Regions from separate parts of the Homo sapiens genome. Here region 2 is linked to region 1. The links are contacts of gene promoters, found by promoter capture Hi-C in human tissues and cell types (Jung and others, 2019). All regions are on one chromosome and are shown on one strand. Each heading gives the region's core, a stretch centred on a gene start or on the middle of the fragment in contact. The rest is flanking DNA. Distances are from core to core; before and after follow the strand shown.

Region 1 (7,157 bases), core at 4,658-7,157:
TATTCGCAGATGACATGATCATATATATGGAAAATTCTAAAGAACGCACAAAGAAATTATTAGAGCTAATAAATTCAGCCAAGTGACAGGGTATAAGATCAACATACAAAAATAAATTGTGTTTGTATATACTAGCAATAAACAACCCCAAAAGGAAATTAAATAAATTCTATTTATAATAGCATCAAAAATAATAAAATACTTAAGAATAAATTTAACCAAGGAGGTGCAAGATTTGTACACTGAACACTATAAAATATTGCTGAAAAAATTAGAAAAGACCTAAATAAAGTTTTTTAAATTCTATGTTAATGTAATGGAAGATTTAACATTGCACTCCTCAAAGTAATTTATAGATTTAATGCAATTCCTATAAAAGTCCCAATGGCCTTTTTTAAAAAATGGAAAAACTGATCCTAAAAATCATGTGAAATTTCAAGGGACCCAGAAAAGCCAAAACAATAAAGTTGGAGGACTCAAATTCCCATTTTTAAAATTTACTGCAGAGCCAAGATTGTGCCATTGCATTCCAGCCTGGGCAACAAGAGCGAAACTCTGTCTCAAAACAACACAAAAACAAAAACAAAACAAAACAAAACTTACTGCAGAGCTACAGTAATCAAAACAGTGTGATAATCCTGGCACAAGGCTAGACATATAGATCAATGGAATTGAACTTAGAGTTCAGAAATAAACCCATGAATCTATAGTCAATTTTTTTTCATTTTTTTTGCATTAAAGCACACTATCAACAAAGTGAAAAGACAGCCACAGAATGGGAAAAATATTTGTAATTCATATATCTGATAAAGGTGAGTTTCCAGAATATACAAAGAACTCTTAAAATTCAACAACAAATGATGAACAATCAAATTTAAAAATTGGCAAGGAGCTGGGCACGGTGGCTTATGCCTGTAATCCCAGCACTTTGGGAGACTGAGGTGGGCGGATCACCTGAGGTTAAGGGTTCGAGACCAGCCTGGTCAACATGGTGAAAACCCGTCTCTACTAAAAACACAAAAATTAGCTGGATATGGTGGCACACGTTTGTAAGCCCAGCTACTCGGGAGGCCGAGGCACAAGAATCGCTTGAACCCAGGAGGTAGAGGTTTCAGTGAGCCAAGATCACACCACTGCACTCCAGTGTGGGAGACAGATCAAGACTCTGTCTAAAAAAAAAATAAAATAAATAAAATTTGGCAAGGGACTTCAATAGACATTACTCCAAACAAGATATGCAAATGACTACCAAGCACATGAAAAGATGCTTACCATCATTAGCCATTAGGGAAATGCAAATCAAAACCACAATGAGATACCACTTCACATCCGCTAGGATGGCTATAATAAAAACCAACAGAAAATACATATTGTCTGCTGGGTGCGGTGGCTCACGCCTGTAATCCCAGCACTTTGGGAGGCCGAGGCGGGCGCATCACGAGGTCAGGAGATCGAGACCATCCTGGCTAACACGGTGAAACCCCGTCTCTACAAAAGAAAATACAAAAAATTAGCCAGGCGTGGTGGCAGGCACCTGTAGTCCCAGCTACTCGGGAAGCTGAGGCAGGAGAATGGCGTGAACCCGGGAGGCGGAGCTTGCAGTGAGCCGAGATCGCGCCACTGCACTCCAGCCTGGGCGACAGACCGAGACTCCATCTCAAAAAAAAAAAAAAAAAGAAAAAAAAAAAAAAGAAAATACATATTGTCAAGGACGTAGAGAAATGGGAACCTTCAGACATTGCTGGTGGGAATATAATACAGGGCAGCTGCTGTGAAAAACAGTTTGTCAGTTTCTTAATAAGTTAAACTTATTTAAAAGTTAATAAGTTAAACTACCTTTAACTCAACAAGTCTCCTTCTGGGTATATATCCAAAAGATTTGAAAATGCATGTCTACACAAAGACTCGCATGCAAGTGTTCATAGCATGCTTGTTTGTAGTAAAGGAAAAAGTGGACATACTCCAAATGTCCATCATCTCATGAAAGGATAAATGAATGTGGCATATCTATGCAATGTAATATTCTTCAGCAATAAAAATCAATTTTTATTTTTTATTTTTTTGAGATGGAGTTTCGCTCTGTCTCCCAGGCTGGAGGGCAGTGGCACTAGCTCTGCTCACTGCAACCTCCACTTCCCGTGTTCAAGCAATTCTCCTGCCTCAGCCTCCTGAGTAGCTAGGGCTACAGGTGCACGTCACCATACCTAACTAATTTTTGTATTTTTAGTAGAACAGGGTTTCACCATGTTGGCCAGGCTGGTCTCAATCTCCCGGCGTGTGCAACCACACCAGGCTAATTATTGTATTTTTTAGTAGAGGCGGGGTTTTACCATGTTGTCCAAGCTGGTCTCGAACTCCTGATCTCAAGTGATCCGCCCACCTTGGCCTCCCAAAGTGTTGAGATTACAGGCATGAGCCACCGCGCCTGGCCTAAAAATGGATTTTTAGATATGTGGTGCCAACACACGCTACAACGTGGTTGAACCCCAAACACGCGATGCTGAAAGAAACTAAACACAAAAGACAACATATTGATATGAGATGCCTAGGAAAAAAAAAAAGCAAAATCAGTAGAGGCATAAAGTAGACGAGTGGCCCTGGGAATGGGAATGGAGATTGACTATAAGCAGGCACAAGGAACCTTTCAGGAGTGATGGGATTGTTTTAAAATTGGATCGTGGTTATAATTGCACAATTCGATAAATTCACTAAAAATCATTGAACTGTACATTTACAGTGGCTTGATTTTATGTTATGTAAAACATAGCTAAATAAAGCTCTTAAAATAAAAATAAAAAAGAGGAAATGGGTTGAGGGAGGGGGTGTGTCAATTATTTTTTCCCAGGAGGCCCCTTGGCTGAAATGCAAATGTGACCACTTCCTCCCCGCTGACCAGCTATCAGCACTGAGGCATGGTTGGAGGGCCGCTGAGATCCTATGGCACCTTCCTTCCAAGGGTATAGAGGCCATACTTATGAGACATTTACAGACCCAGAGGAACCCCTCAAGGGACCACATGTCTATTTCTGAGGGGACTCATGTTTACCCCAGTGGACATGGGCCTGGCAGCTCCAAATGCATCTACTTTTTAAGCACCAAGGGACTGTGACCCCTGCTGATCCCACCCATTCCCCAACTCCTGGCCTGAACTGAAAATGTAAACTGGATTAAGCCACTCTTAAGATGAAACCCTCCAATGATGACTTCCCATTTCCTTTGGAACAATCTACCTTCCTCACCCAAAACCGTGAGGTCCCATGTGGTGTAGATGTGTGATTTCCGTGCCTTCACCTTCTACTATTCCTCCATTTGCTCACTGTATTACGCCATGCTGTTCTCAAGTTCCTGGAGCCAGCCACATTCTTTCCTACCTCAGTGCCTTTGCACTTGCAGATCCTTCTGCCGATAATGTTCTTCCCATGGCTGGGCACTTCTTAGCACCTAGTGTACCCCCAAATGTCACAACCTTGATCTCTCATTGGTTTTCTATGACATTTAGTACAGTTTACATTGAGTTTGTCTGTTACTTCTTTTTGTCTAACTCTCCCTACTAGAATATAGGCTCCATGGGGGCTGTCACTGTGTGTATATTTCTGTGGGCTAGCCCCAGGATGTAGCCAAGCTGCGTGATTTTGGACAAGTCACTTAACCTCTCTGAGCCTGCTCAATAAATATTAGGGGGAGGAAGCAAGGAATGGCTGGGTGGGTGGGTGCAGAGAAGAATGAATGGGTGGATAGGTAGGTGGGTGGGTAGAAAGCAGGTAGATAAAGAAGGCAGGCAGGAGGGAGGGAGGAGAAATTGAATATCCTTGTTTTCATACACACCCCAGAGCAGTGTAGTGAGTTAAGAGTGCGGGCTCTGGAGCCCAAATGACTGAGTTCAAATCCCAACTCTGGCACTCATCAGCTGTGTGACCTTGGACAAGTCACTTAACCTCTCTGAGCCTCAGTTTCCTCATCTGTAAAACAGGGACGATGATGATGATGATGATAACTATCTTCTAGACTCATTCTTTTTCATTTTGGGGATTTTATTTTTGAAGACAGAGTCTTGCTCTGTTGCCCAGGCTTGAGTGCAGCACTACAGTCATAGCTCACTGCAGCCTTCAGCTCCTTGGCTCAAGTGGTCCTCCCACCTCAGCCTCCAGAGTAGCTGGGACTACAGGCGTGCACCACCATGACTGTCTAATTTTTAAATTTTTTTATAGAGACAGGGTCTTGCTATGTTGCCCAGACTGGTCTTGAACTCCTAGCCTCAATCGATCCTCCCACCTCAGCCTCCCAAAATGATGGAATTATAGGTGTGCACCGCTGCACACAGCCTTCTCGAGTATTTCTGAGGTTTAAATGAGAGGGTGCATCTTTAAAGTCCTTAAAACCCTGGCACACAATGAGCTTTCAGCAAATATTAGCTCTTTTTACTGTCTCTTCTCCTGATCTTTCAACCACTACAAATTTCAGTGCATGTTATCAGAGAATTCACCCCGAAGATCAAGAGAAAGAAAAACAAAAGCTGGTGTCTTCCCAAGGTTCGTTCTCCAGAGAACACGACACACTTCGGTAGCTGGGAAGAGCTCTACAGGGCCAGGATCCCTCAAATCAACCACAGGGGAATTTGTACCAAGTTCCTCAAAAACAGCTAGAAAAAAAAAGAAAGAAAGAATAGCAAGACGCTTTCTCTTTTTTCTCTGGAGTGGTCACGAAAGTCAACAGCAAGTTGATTCCCAAAAATGAGTCAGCAGGGAGAGCTACAAATTGCATCTTGTTATCAAAACAGCATAAAATAGCCTCCCCCAACTGTGGGACATTTCATCCTGGTATGGCCCCGTTTTCACAGCCTGGTATAAGCTTAGGAATCAAACACACCCAGGTTCAAATCCCAGCTCTAATTCTTCTTGGCTTGTGTGACGTTTCACTCCTCTGGGCCTCAGTCTCTCCATCTGTAAAATGGGACTAATCTTGTCTGCCTCACACTTTGTGGGATAAAGTGAGATCATGTAGGCACCAAAGTAATTCGAGGTGGTGGTGATGGCAGTGGTAGTGGTGGTGGTGGTAGCGGTGGTGGTGGTAGCAATTCTCTTGCTCTCCTTTGGAGACTGCACTAGGCATTAAGCTTGTTACATTTTGTCTCCTGGTTTCTTGAATGTCTTCCAGAAACATCTGACCCTCTCATGGGCCTCTGGCATGTTAGCAAGATGAAAACTCTCTTGAGAATTTCTTTTCTCTATTTTCTTCTTGAATTCTCATGTGTTAATGTCTGCCCTCTTCCTCATAGCTAGGTGCCCCCATTTGACAGATGGGCAAAGTGAGGCATTCAGAGAGGTGATGTGACGTGCCCAAGGGGTCCTGCTCCCTGGAGCTCTGCAGCAGGAGACTGGATCCAAAGGAAATGGAGGCAGAGAGGCATGGGGGTCAAGCCAGAGCAGAGGGTCCCAAGCTCAGACCCTATTAGGCAGGTAAGGCTCAGGAATAAGAAACAGGCTGGTTTGCAAAGTCTGAAAAAGGGGCTTCCGTGGGACCTTGGGCAAGGTTCTGGTCCTTCTCTCTGTGCTGAGGGGCTGGAGTCGGCCACTGAGGACTCTGGGTCCACGGGTGAAACTGTGCCACATCTTCACACCTCTGGCCTCAGTTTCCATATCTGTGCAATGTGGTGGCTCCAGGAGGCACTGCCTGCCTCATGGGTTATGACTGAGAGGCCTGTGGGGATGATGTCACAGGTCCCTAAGAGGGAAGTGTCACCCCGATGGCCCCAAATGTCTTACTTGCAGGTGACCTTTGGTGACAGTGGGTGCCTGCTGTGGGGCCAGGCCCCCTCCCACCTCTTTCTCACTCCCTCCCAGGAGGAGCCCAGCTGCGGGTGGGCGGGGCTGGCGGGGAGCGGCTCACCACATCCTCCTCTTCCTCCCCACTCTGCACATGCGGCTGGGTGGCAGCCAGCGGCCTCAGACAGACCCACTGGCGTCTCTCTGCTGAGTGACCGTAAGCTCGGCGTCTGGCCCTCTGCCTGCCTCTCCCTGAGTGTGGCTGACAGCCACGCAGCTGTGTCTGTCTGTCTGCGGCCCGTGCATCCCTGCTGCGGCCGCCTGGTACCTTCCTTGCCGTCTCTTTCCTCTGTCTGCTGCTCTGTGGGACACCTGCCTGGAGGCCCAGCTGCCCGTCATCAGAGTGACAGGTCTTATGACAGCCTGATTGGTGACTCGGGCTGGGTGTGGATTCTCACCCCAGGCCTCTGCCTGCTTTCTCAGACCCTCATCTGTCACCCCCACGCTGAACCCAGCTGCCACCCCCAGAAGCCCATCAGACTGCCCCCAGCACACGGAATGGATTTCTGAGAAAGAAGCCGAAACAGAAGGTAATTCCAGCCCTGGTTTTCTGCTGGGACCAGGGTGCCTTCTCTGCCCAGGAGGGACTGTTCCCTGCCTGCTGCATCTAGTGTCACAGTGGGAGGGCTCGGAGGACTGTGCCCAAGTCACAATTGGGGACACTGAGGCAAAGAAGATTCATGCAGTGAGGCTGGGCAGAAATGAGGTTGGGGTCTCTTGTTCAGCACAGCTTAGGGGCCCAGCAGCAGGGATGTGGCTGAGACGACCCTCTATCTTGAAAACCAGCCTCCAAAATGTAGCGGGCTGGGGAAGGAAAGCCAGTTTCAAGCCAAACATAACATGTCAATCACCCGATTCTGGGCGGCTGAGTCGGGAGGTGACGGGCATGGGTGTAGAGCCTGATGGGACCCATTCTGTGTCAGTTTCTATGTCTTACCACCTTGATTCCACCCAGTCATTCAAAACAATGGCTGGTGTGCCCATTTCGCAGATGAGGCAATGAGGCTGCGAGAGGTAGAGTGATTTTCCCTCGGTGACTCAACTGGGACGTAGCAGGTCGGGCAGTCAAGCCAGGTGACCCCATGAGCTGTCGCTGCATCTTTCTCATGAAGCACGGGGAACGGGTCGGATGGTAAGAGGCCAACCCAGTTCCCTGTGCATGTGGAGGAGAGGAGGGTGGGGAGGTCAGTGGAGGCTGAGCCTTGAAGGATGGGAAAGGAAGAACATTCCTGGTGGAGGAGCCCTGGGGAGCGGGAACTTAGGACTTGCCGCAGGAATGACGTCTCTGCTCAGTGAAGGCAGAAGACCAGGTGCGGGACATTCAAAGCCAGGAGG
Region 2 (6,426 bases), core at 16-2,515, 36 kb before region 1:
GGCATAAGGCACCAGTTACCCTGCATGTTGGCCCAGACCTCAGGTGCTAGGGAAGGCGGGAACCTTGGGTTGAGTAATGCTCGTCTGTGTGTTTTAGTTTCATCACCTGTTATCTGTGTTTGCTGAGGAGAGTGGAACAGAAGGGGTGGAGTTTTGTATAAATAAAGTTTCTTTGTCTCTTTATTTTTTATGTATTAACCAAACATACCTCCAGACACTGCTGTGAGTGCTGTGTCTCTGTTAACTCCTGGAATTCACCCATCCAGAGGAACCAGGATGCAAGAGGTTAAGAAACTTGCCATCTGGGTTTGGGTTCCCCATACAAGGATTCAAATAGTTGATTTAGGAAGTAATCCCGGGAAACCCTGCTAAGGTAGTGGGGAACTGAGGCAGGGAAGGACACAAACCAAGAAAGTGTTACCTGAAAGGGGTCCAGATGCAGACCCCAAAAGAGGGTTCTTGAATCTCATGCAAGAAAGAATTCAGAGCGAGTCCATAGAGTCAGTGAAAGCAAGTTAATGAGGAAAGTAAAGGAATAAAAGAATGGCTACTCCGTAGACAGAGCAGCCCTGAGGGTTGCTGGCTGCCTATTTTTATGGTTATTGATTAATTATATTCCAAACAAGGGGTGGATTATTATGCCTCCCTTTTAGACCATATAGGGTAACTTCCTGATGTTGCCATGGCATTTGTAAACTGTCATGGCGCTGTTGGGAGTGTAGCAGTGAGGACAACCAGAGGTCACTCTTGTTGCCATCTTGGTTTTGGTGGGTTAGAGCCATCTTCTTTACTGCAACCTGTTTTATCAGCAAGGTCTTTATGACTTGTATCGGTGACGACCTCCTGTCTCATTCTATGACTAAGAATGCCCTAACCTCCCAGGAATGCAGCCCAGTAAGTCTCAGCCTCATTTTACCCAGCCCCTCTTCAAAGCTCCAGTTTAAATAAACCTCTGACAAAAGGGTGAGTTATTCAACAGATTACCAGCATGAGTAACTGATGCTTACCTGCCGGGGATCTCTGGAAGACCATGCATGGCACATGCCCAGTTATGCCTGCAAAGGAGAGGGAGCTGGGGTATTTGTCCACCAGCTCCCATCTGTCATTGGCTGAGAGCTGCTTCCAGGAGCATTAATTCTCCAGCACTTCCAGCTACTCCAGGAAAAAAAAAATTCTTCAACTGAGAGTTGGAGGTGTTGAGAGACTCTGGCACACCAAGAAGACAGGAACAGGACACCAACAGTGGCTGATGATACACTGCCAAGGTCACACAGCTAGTTAGCAACAGATCTATAGTGGAATCCAGACAGTGTCTCCATCACCCAGGCTCTCTGTAGTGATCTGCGCTTCACATCCGAGGCAGGCAGAGGGATGGTGTGGGCCTTAGATGGGAAGGCTGGGAACCTGAAGCTCCTATGTCTGTATCACTTTTGCTTCTCTGAGTAGCTGCCCTGATTTCACACTTGAGGGGCTTGGCCATTTTAGATTCCTTCCTGCTCTAGGAGCCTACATACTACACTGGAAATGATGGGGAGCTCTCTACCTCACATGCAGCCTGATGTTTGTTAGAAACACCTCCTTGCGCCAGGCATGATGGCTCATGGCTGTAATCCCAGCAATTTGGGAGGCTGAGGCGGGTGTATCACTTGAGGTGAGGAGTTCAAGACCAGCCTGGCCAATATGGTGAAACCCTATCTCTACCAAAAAATAAAAAATTAGCCGGGTGTGGTGGTGGGTGCCTGTAATCTCAGCTACTTGGGAGGCTGAGTTGGTAGAATTGCTTCAACCTGGGACGCGGAGGTTGCAGTGAGCTGAGATTGTGCCATTGCACTCCAGCTTGGATGACAGAGTGAGACCCTGTCTCAGGAAAAAAAAAAAAAAACAAAAAAAACCTTGTTCTAAGCCAAAATCAATCCCTTTAGCTGCCCAAATCACACAGTTTACAGATGGAGAAACAGTTTTAGAGAGGAAAAGGGACTTGCCCAAAGTCACCCAGAGAATGGCAGAGCCTGAACTAGCCTTCTGGACTTCTTGCCTCCAAAAGCTCTTTATAATAAAATATAATTTTAAATAAAAATAGTTATCTGTTTAGGGCCAAGCAATATGCTAAGTGCCGTCCAGCCACTGTGTCATTTACGTCTCCAAACAGCTCTAGTTGGGAGGCTCAATGATTATCCCAATTTTACAGATAAGGAAACAGGTCCAGAGAGGTTGAGGATTAGCCTAGAACCACACAGCTAGGAAATCCTGGAGCCAGGATTTGAACCCGGGTCTGACCTAAGAGCTCCCAGCCGCCGTGATATATCAGCTTATGTCATCCTGACACCTACGCAGATGTCGGCTCGAATCCACTTTGCCTGAGCATTGTCTCAGAGAAATCTAATTTAAAAATTAGGCAGCAAATAGAAAATATATTTGACTGCTAGAGATGCAATGGGACTGGGAGCCCAACAAAGGATCTTAGGCAAAAGAAATCCAAGTTGTTGGCCTCAGCAACTATTACTGAACTGGCTGGGCTTTGGGAAGCTACAGAGGGATGAGAAGACCTGGTGGATCAGGTGGGCCCAACTCAGGCTGGCCCCCACCCTGCAGGAAGTAGGAAAAGTCCAGGGTCATAGGCCCAGTGAGATGCCGGCTGCGGGAGTTTCAGCCTCCGGGGCTGGACCAGAGGGCAGGAGGGGACGCCCCTGGGTAGCAGCGCCAGAGTGGGCTGAGTGGCCTGGGCCCCTGCGGGGGAGCTTTCAGAGATGTTGATTTGGGGGTACTCCCTCAGCCCTGCCTTTACACAGAATTTGTGGGGGATGAGGGGAGGGGGAAAGGGGGGAGGAAGGCAGTGAGTGCATCTGAATTTTTTTTTTTTTTTTACAAAAAGTGGCTTATTGCATTTTTCTGATTACTCTATCAGCACGTGCAGACCTTTTCCTATTCAGAGAAAGCCTGAAGATATAAAGAGGAAAGTGAAGAAAAACCACCGGAAATCCCATCCCCGCCCCAGCATCTGGCACTGTGTGGGCGATCACGAAATGAGCGCTTGTTTTTGAAGGCGTAGTATCTCCGTGAACATCCGGTTGAACAACCTTTCTGACTTTATTTTTCCCACGAAAGTTATTAATTAAAAAACAAAAAGCAAAACACCGAAAAAACAAAAAACCCAGCAAGTGTTTGAGCTCCCACCACGAGGGAGGCCTGACGTCACTGGATCCTCCCGGCAGCCGATGAGGCTGCATGGGACTTGCCCACGATGTGCTGTTACCGAGTGGCATAGCCAGGCTTCAAACCAGAGTCCTAGCTAACCGCCCTGTATATACCATGGGCTCATCATCTTCCCTGGTTCCAGCTCAGAACAGAGACTCAGAGGAACAAGGGCTCTGCGCTCACCCTGCCTGGTTAGGTCCAGCCTTTCCAATTCCAAGCTGTGTGACCATGGGAAAAGTGTTTGCCCACTCTGGGCCTAAATTTCCTCCTTGGTAAAAGGCACACAAGAGCAGTACTCTGCACGCCACAGTGGTGGGGTGAGCAGCAGATGACGTGGTGGGTGGAGGCCAGGTGACACCAGGCTGCTCTCAAGCTTAACTTGCCTGTGATGGTGGCGGGACCGTGTCAGTTCTTCCACCAAATCCCACCTGTTTCCACGACGTTTATTGACAAGTCAGGGGCACCGCCCCGGGTGGAGGGGGTGTGAAGAGGAAGTCAGCTCCCTGGTCCCTGCTGCCCTCTGGTGACCACATCAGCATCAGCACCTGCTCCATCCCAGCAGCTCCAGGTCCAGGCCGTGCCCAGAAAACTTGGCCTGGGAGATTCCCCACCCGCCCTGCCCCGATCCCACCTCTCTTCCATCTCTGCATTTTCCAGAAATTCCCCCAGCACCAGACAAAAGAGCCTAATGTCCATTAGATATGCTGTGTGGCGCCAGGCCAGCGTGTAACCTCTCTGTGCTTGATTCGTTATCTGTAAAATGGGAATCATTATAATATCTGCCTCATGTAGCTATTGTGAGAATTAAATATGTTAGTACCTGTGAGGTCCTTAGAACTATGCCTGCGGCTGGGCACAGTGGCTCACGCCTGTAATCCCAGCACTATGGGAGGCCAAGGTGGGCAGATTGCCTGAGGTAGGCGTTTGAGACCAGCCTGGCCAACATGGTGAAACCCTGTCTCTATTAAAAATACAAAAATCAGCCAGACATGGTGGCGGGTGCCTGTAATCCCAGCTACTCGGGAGGATGAGGCAGGAGAATTGCCTGAACCCAGGAGGCAGAGGTTGCAGCAAGCGGAGATTGTGCCACTGCACTCCAGCCTGGGCAACAAGTGGGACTCTGTCTCAAAAAAAAAGAACTATGCCTGCAAATAGTTAATGCCTTAAAAGTATTTGCTAACATTCTTCTTCTTCTTCTTTTTTTTTTTTTTTTGAGACAGGGTCTTTCTCTGTCACCCAGGCTGGAGCGCAGTGGCCCAATCCCGGCTCACTGCAGCCTTGAACACCTGGGCTCATGTGATTCTCCCACTTCAGCCTCTCAAGTAGCTGTGACCACAGGTGCACACACCACTAAGCCTGGCTAATTTGTTTTTTAATTTTTTGTAGAGACAGGGAATCACTATGTTGCCTAGGCTAGTCCCAGACTCCTAGGGTTCAAGCAATCCATCCACCTCGGCCTCCCAAAGTGCTAGGATTACAGATGTGAGCCACCATGCCTAGTCTGCTAACATTATCCTTAATATTACACTGAATATGTCTGTGGATTTTGTGGGAGGTGAGGGTATAAAACATAATTAGAGGAAATAATGACATTCTAAATTTAATTTGACTTTATTACAAAAAGGGCAGAATGGAGCAACAGTAATCCAGGACAAAAAATTGTCCCAATCCCATCATTCAACCCACTTGTGTTTGTATCTGTTTGTGCCACTTCTGTGTGTTGTTTACATGCAGAGTCAGTGTTTGCGTATTTGCGGTTTTATATCATTCATTTCTCATCATACATACATATATTTATATTCCTGACATTTTTCTAGGGAATATCTTTATATTCCTGACATTTTTCTCTTTTTCCCTTATGTTCTTCCATACCGGGACTTATAGGACCTTGCCCAGACTCAACTTCCCTCTTCCCCATGGACCCAAGTTGCTGAGCTTCCAACAGGTGTTTACAGCAAAGGAGAATGAGACAGAGAGAAGCAGAGATGCAGAGAGAAAGACAGACAGAGAAGACTAAACTGATTGATCCCAACTCCATTATGATATCTGACTCCAACCACAGAATGACCCTGATCCAGCCACAGACTGACTTCTGATCCTGGCCACAGTCCACCTCCTGTCCTCAGCCACAGAACAGCTCTGACTCAAGCCAGGAACTGAGTCCCGACCCATGTTACTGACTTACTCATGATCCTGGTTGCAGGCTGGCCCCAGCCACATGCTGACCCCTGACCCTCACCACAGATGGATCTTTGATCCCAGCTATAGGCTGATCTCTGATTCTGGCTGCCCTGAACCACCACTCCTATATACTGATGACCCACCTTAGCGTGATCCCACCCAGGAACTGGCATTTCCTGGGACAGGCTCTTGGCCACCTGCTGCTCTGCCCTGGGCACACCAGGCCCTACGCATCCTCCCCCTTCCACCACCATCCATGATTTCCTGATTTCTAGCAGCAAATTTAGCTTGAGTTGGTCAACATAGCTGGGCTGCCTGACCTTCCTCTCTGCCATGGAACCACAGAGCAAGTCAGCAGTTCTCCTTCCTAATCAAAAAGCAGCATGGAGGAGAAGGCTCCTTTGCCACCTTCCTTTCTGCTTTGGATGGTGCTTTTGCAATCATGAGGAGACAAGCCTGGAGATGAAAGGAGGCATTCTGAATATGGTGGAGTGGAAGAAGAAGAAGGCCTGCCTGGGGCTTTGATTACATCACCAAGTGATCAAACCAACCTTAAATTCTTAAATAAACTGTAAGTGTGCTTTTCTTTAAACCACTGTGAGTTTTCTTTTGCAGTCATAAAGCAACCTTAAAAATTGTAGTAGGTACAATAATGAACCCCCCAAGATGTCCATGTCCCAATCCCTGGAACCTGTGAACATGTTACATTACATGGCAAGGGGGGGATTAAGGTTACAGATGGAAGCAGGGTTGCTAATCAACTGAACCTGAGATGTAGAGGGAGATTATCCTTAATTATCCAGACAGGCCCAATATAATCCCAAGGATCTTCATAAGTGAGAGATGCAGGAGAAGCCAAGTCAGAGAGAGATTTCAAAATATTATGCTGCTGGCTTTGAAGATGGAGGGAAGGGCCATGGGCTAAGGAATGCAGGTGACCACTTGAAACTGGAAAAGTCAAGGAACAGACTTCCCTAGAGTTTCTGGAATGAACACAGCCTTGTTAACACCCTGATTTTGAGCTCAGTGAGACCAGTTTCAGACTTCTGA

Evidence for each region. The method cuts DNA at HindIII sites, captures the fragments that hold promoters and counts their contacts. A contact is called where the count stands out against the background at its distance.
Region 2: a fragment that was not itself captured here is called in contact with the fragment with the promoter of IL21R in region 1 in 1 of the 25 tissues and cell types used here (lymphoblastoid cells).

Annotation. Positions count from the first base shown.
Region 1 is chr16:27,396,267-27,403,423 of GRCh38, forward strand. IL21R (interleukin 21 receptor) reads left to right here and starts at 5,908. Exons shown (of 9, transcript NM_181078.3): 1 at 5,908-6,352. RefSeq lists enhancers at 5,985-6,527, 6,420-6,539. The HindIII fragment of the contact is 8,819 bases long and covers 544-7,157 here.
Region 2 is chr16:27,364,596-27,371,021 of GRCh38, forward strand. It overlaps IL4R (interleukin 4 receptor), which reads left to right. Exons shown (of 11, transcript NM_000418.4): 11 at 1-183. Among named protein-coding and RNA genes, the nearest start is that of IL21R, 34 kb to the right of the region's middle. RefSeq lists enhancers at 463-1,662, 3,036-3,095, 3,126-3,205 and a silencer at 5,219-5,419. The HindIII fragment of the contact is 9,103 bases long and covers 1-5,817 here.